2 separate regions of the Homo sapiens genome follow, and region 1 is linked to region 2. The links are contacts of gene promoters, found by promoter capture Hi-C in human tissues and cell types (Jung and others, 2019). All regions are on one chromosome and are shown on one strand. The core of a region is centred on a gene start or on the middle of the fragment in contact, and the rest is flanking DNA. Distances in the headings are between cores, read along the strand shown. Region 1 overlaps CR1L (complement C3b/C4b receptor 1 like). Region 2 holds the start of CR1 (complement C3b/C4b receptor 1 (Knops blood group)).

Region 1 (2,700 bases), core at 136-2,635, 190 kb after region 2:
ACAAAATGAGTCCAGGCGCAGTGGCTCATGCGTGTAATCCCAGCACTTTGGGAGGCTGAGGTGGGAGAAATCACCTGAGGTCAGGAATTCAAGACCACCCTAGTCAACATGATGAAACCCCGTCTTTACTAAAAATACAAAAATTAGCCAGGCATAGTGGCGTGCACCTGTAATCCCAGCTACTTGAGAGGCTGAGGCAGGAGAATCACTTGAATCTGGGAGGTGGAGGTTGCAGTGACATTGCACTCCAGCCTGGGCGACAAGAGTGAAACTCTATCTCAAAAATAATAATAATAATAAATAACCAAAATGATATCGAAGTCACTAATAATTACAACATAATAGCTACTATAATGTAACAATGTGTCAAGTGTCTGCAGAAGGACCCACTGTTGTCTCACTATTCATTTGATCTCCATTTGGCACTGTTTCGTTGTTTGAATAAAGCTTTATGCTGCCAGGTTTTCCTACATATTTGTAAAACAAAGTTCTCAGCCATTCCAATAACCATGACTGTTACTTGACATTGCTTCATTCATGTATAGTACTATCAAGTTTGAGCCTACCCTCACTATGACTAGTTTGGCCCAACCATCTATCACAACAGAGGGTCTCAGGTGAAGTAAAATAAATGTTATAAATTCTTCCAAATTTATGGCACACTTTGAACAGTTTGAGACATACTAATTGAGAATTGCTAACTTTAACATTTTAAGTATAAAATAAGTGTTCAGTTCTTTTTGGTCAGCTTGGATTGCCTTTGGTTCTAGTTATAAATCATTTTCTTTCTTTCTTTCTTTCTTTCTTTCTTTTTTTCTTTCTTTCTTTCTTTTTCTTTCTTTCTTTCCTTCCTTCCTTCCTTCCCTCCTTCCTTCCTTCTTTCTTTCTTTCTCTTTCTTTCTTTCTCTCTTTCTCTTTCTCTCTCTCTCTCCCTCTGACTCTCTCTCTCTCTCTACCCCGCCCCTTTCTTTCCTACTGACAAGGTCTTGCTTTATTGCCCAGACTGGAGTGCAGTGGCATGATCAACACTCACTGCAGCCTCAATCTCCCAGGCTCAAGCGATCTTCCTGCCTCAGCCTTCTGAGTAGCTAGGACTACAGGAATGTGCCACCATGCGTGGCTTTTTAATAAAATTTTTGTTGAGACAGGGTCTCACTATGTTGCCCAGGCTTCTCTCGAACTCCTGAGCTCAAGCAGTCCTCCTACCTCAGCCTCCAAACGTGCTGGGATTACAGGCGTGAGCCACTGTGAATGGCCTACTTAGATGAATCTTACTGATAAAAGCCCATCCATGCATCCATATATTAATACTTATAAGGCATAGAAATACATACAACAGGACTACATACACACATACATATGTATATATATGACAGCTTCCCTGCACTCAAGAAGCTTGTGTTGTCTTTTAAAAAAATGAAATTTATAGGAAAAACTGTAACTCATCTTTGATTTATATAAAAATGTGTCATAAGATAATAAAAAAGAGAAATCCCATCCAACTGAGAAGGCATGGAAGAGAAAATGACAAAGTCCCAAGAATGTGAAATTTGGGAAGGTGATAGACAATTCTTTGACAAGTGGAAAATGTCCCTCTGAATTCTATAAGAGTGTAATCTCTGGAAGTAGTAATTTAATTGGGTAGTTGACCTGTGTATTTAGAATGTAACATTCCTTATTTTTTGCCTCTAGATACCGACTCATTGGTTCCTCGTCTGCCACATGCATCATCTCAGGCAACACTGTCATTTGGGATAATAAAACACCTGTTTGTGACAGTGAGTTGAAATATGCATTCCTATTTCTTTTACCGATACATTCTAATTTTTCTCTGGAATAATAAAAATCTTAACCGAATTCCTTCTGTGCAATCTGTACTTCACATGGCTGAAGACAGCCATAATGTTCTCAGATATTCCTATGGGGTTCCTGGCAACTCTTTCTTTAAGTTCTTTCTTATCCTGGGATGTGTCTTTTCTAATTCTAGGGGCCTAAATACGTAAAAGGCTTCAAACTTGATTTTACTTCAATAAACTTGAAATTATGTTGGTTCTACCACCTCCAGTATAATAATCATCCTGCTTGGCAAATCAGTAAAGATTTTAAAAATTGATACTCTTCAAGGTTAGCGAAGCTGTGGAAGAACCTGGACTCTCATGTACCACGAGATCAACACATCCTCTTGAAAGGCCCCATGCACTATAAACCTCAGAAGTGGGCATGTATTTTAACCTACTTCTTAGAATTTATACTTAGGAAATAATCACACACTTTTTAAAGCAGTTTGGTATAAACTTTTCATTGCAGCATTATTTATATTAGTTAAAATGTTAGAGTAACCTAAATATTTTAAACTATGGTTTGGAAATAATCTACTAGTAGGAAAAAGATGTGTTCAAATGACCATTACAAAGAATTCCCTAAGAAACATGAAATAGCTATGCAGAATGAAAATAAGTATATCCATACACTGGCATGGTATTCAGCCATAAAAAATGATAGCATAAAGAAGCACTTAATGACTAGAAAGAGATGTGTTTTATGTGGAAAAAGAATCAGATGAACGGCATATATGGCAAGATCTCATTTTATTAAAAAAAAATACACCTATGTAGTGAGGGCCAGGCTGAGGCTGAGAGAAATGCAGTGTATAACATCTTTGTCTTACTCTTCTCTTTGGATAACTTGGGGACTTCTTTA
Region 2 (2,700 bases), core at 158-2,657:
CCAGAGGCTGGGGAAGGGAGAGACAATGGGAGATGGAGAGAGATTGGTTAAAGGGCACAGGATCACAGATAGATAGGAGGAATACATTCATCCTTGAATACTTAACCCTCTGCCCTAAATCTGTCAGTCCTACATCCATACTTCTTATTTCAGTAAGTAGCACCACCATTCATTTCTAATCCTGGGGCTAACTCTTTTTTTTTTTTCTTTTCTGAATCATGTCTCCTTTTAATGGTTAAGGAAAACAAGTTTAACATAAAATTAGCAACAACAACAACAACAACAACAAAATCAAGGTTTAAAGTCAAAATTATTTTAAGAGAAAAACCCAGGCAAAATAGCCTACCTACAGGCAGGCAGTACATGTCAGAAGGACAGGCCACCCCCAATAAAAAAGATAAAATATTATTTTTTCTACCTTTTTTAAACTTAATTATTTAATTATTTCTTTCTTTTTTCTTTTTTTTGTTTCTTTTTTTTATTATACTTTAAGTTTTAGGGTACATGTGCACAACGTGCAGGTTTGTTACATATGCATACATGTGCGACGTTGGTGTGCTGCACCCATTAACTCGTCCTTTACATTAGGTATATCTCCTAATGCTATCCCTCCCCCCTCCCCCCACCCCACAACAGGCCCCGGTGTGTGATGTTCCTCTTCCTGTGTCCATGTGTTCTCATTGTGGAAGCTGGAAACCATCATTCTCAGCAAACTACCGCAAGGGGGCTAACTCTTGATTGCTTTCTTCTCACCACCAACCTTAAGAAAGGAAGTAACCAAAATCCAATACATGAGCAACTGTTCATTCCATCTCCAATATCTTTGTTAATTGTCCACTTTATCCACCCAGTCAGGGCCGCCATCAAACCTCACTTGGATGTCGGCAAAAGCTCCCCTGACTGGTCTTCGCAGTCCATTATTGCCCTATTCTAATCTACCTTCCATACTATACACAGATTTACATTTTTTAAATGTGTATCTAATTGTCCCTCCCTTTTAAAAAATCTTACAATGGCATGACGTCTCAATTCAGGGTAAGGAAATTGTTTCTTCACATTCCCTGTACACCGTACACATCGCCTGCAATTGCCCTTCAACACGGAGAGCAGGCATTTCATTAGCTGACCTTCCCACACACATTCTTGCAAAGAGGAAAAGTTAAGCAGGGTGTTTGGAGGCGAGCTGCCATCATCCACCGCCTTTGTCTGGAAGCGCAGGGCCTCACACGCGGGATCCATCGGAAGCCCGAGCATTGTCAAGCTCTGCTGCTGCACCTGGGTCAGCAAGGTGGGCTCTGCCAGCGAAACTCGTTAGAAACAATGCAAATGGGGAGTAAACATGACCTCGCCCATGAAGGGGAAGCTGTGGTCAAAAGCATTTTGTCCCGGAACCCCGCAGCCCTCCCCACACTCTGGGCGCGGAGCACAATGATTGGTCACTCCTATTTTCGCTGAGCTTTTCCTCTTATTTCAGTTTTCTTCGAGATCAAATCTGGTTTGTAGATGTGCTTGGGGAGAATGGGGGCCTCTTCTCCAAGAAGCCCGGAGCCTGTCGGGCCGCCGGCGCCCGGTCTCCCCTTCTGCTGCGGAGGATCCCTGCTGGCGGTTGTGGTGCTGCTTGCGCTGCCGGTGGCCTGGGGTGAGAGGCGGGCGGGCGTGGGGAGGCGCCCGGGCGGACGAGGAACCCGGGGCCCCGCAGAGAACTCGCGTGCAGCGCTGAGCTGCGCTGCTCTGCGCGCCCGGGTCCGAAGGCAGCGCGATGGGTGGGCTGAGCGCGCGACCCGGCAGGGCGGCGGGTGTAGGATCCTTCTGCGCACTGGAGACCCTCGCTGCTTCTGGGTAAGCGTGGAGTTCCCAGGTGCAGGGGCTTAAGTCGTGACGAGCGCAGTGGAAGGCGCAGATGCTGAGCGGGTGCCGCACGAAATTCCTTGCCTTTGTGTATTCACAGCCTCGGCTGGCTATAGCCAAGACGTGGCGTTGATCCTAGTGAAAGGGAACTTGGGGATCCGACAAACCTGAGTTCTGGTCCTAGAAACTTAACTGTGAGGCAACTTAGCACACCTGAGTCTGTTTGCTCTTCTGTAAAATGGGGACACTGGTATCTCTGCATCGTGGAGTTGCTGCCTCAGTGGCATTAAGCCTGTCGAGTATCTAACACAGGGCTATGTGTCCCCGAGTCCATTTCTATCCCCCAACCGTTACCTCTGTACTTTGCTCCCAATGGTGTTTAGACAAGCAGTCCTAGGGATGCAGGTGTTACCTGACAACTGCCCCGCATGGAACTGTCCTCGCCCCCCACACCAAGCCACCACGGCCATCATCACCATGCACTTAATTGACAGCATACTTTAAGACAGATGCATGCCAGGCACTTGCGGATTAGAAGAGCAAGGGAAGCCCCAGAACATGCAATGTAACCGTTGCAGGTAGAAGGGACAGTAGATATGTTTACAGTTCGCATTTTAGTGATGTGTTTAGTACAAAATAACGCCTATTATAATTATTATGGAAATTTTGAGGCCACATCTCTTCCTTTTTCTTAACTTCAAATAGGTAAACATCTTCAGTTAGAACCCTTCTATTATTATTTTTCGGCTCCCCAGAAGTCTTCTTGGTTGCCTAGACTCACTGGCAACATCTCATTTGAAGTGACAGTCTTGGTTGTTTTTGTCCAGCCTATTCCTGACAACTCCGGGTTCG

The links. Contacts are between HindIII fragments. The study calls those that stand out against the background at their distance.
Region 1: a fragment that was not itself captured here is called in contact with the fragment with the promoter of CR1 in region 2 in 1 of the 25 tissues and cell types used here (aorta).

Annotation. Positions count from the first base shown.
Region 1 is chr1:207,682,180-207,684,879 of GRCh38, forward strand. It overlaps CR1L (complement C3b/C4b receptor 1 like), which reads left to right. Exons shown (of 12, transcript NM_175710.2): 4 at 1,693-1,778. Among named protein-coding and RNA genes, the nearest start is that of CR1L, 38 kb to the left of the region's middle. The HindIII fragment of the contact is 6,489 bases long and covers 1-2,700 here.
Region 2 is chr1:207,494,750-207,497,449 of GRCh38, forward strand. It overlaps CR1 (complement C3b/C4b receptor 1 (Knops blood group)), which reads left to right and starts at 1,408. Exons shown (of 47, transcript NM_000651.6): 1 at 1,408-1,639. The coding sequence starts at 1,519. The HindIII fragment of the contact is 14,814 bases long and covers 1-2,700 here.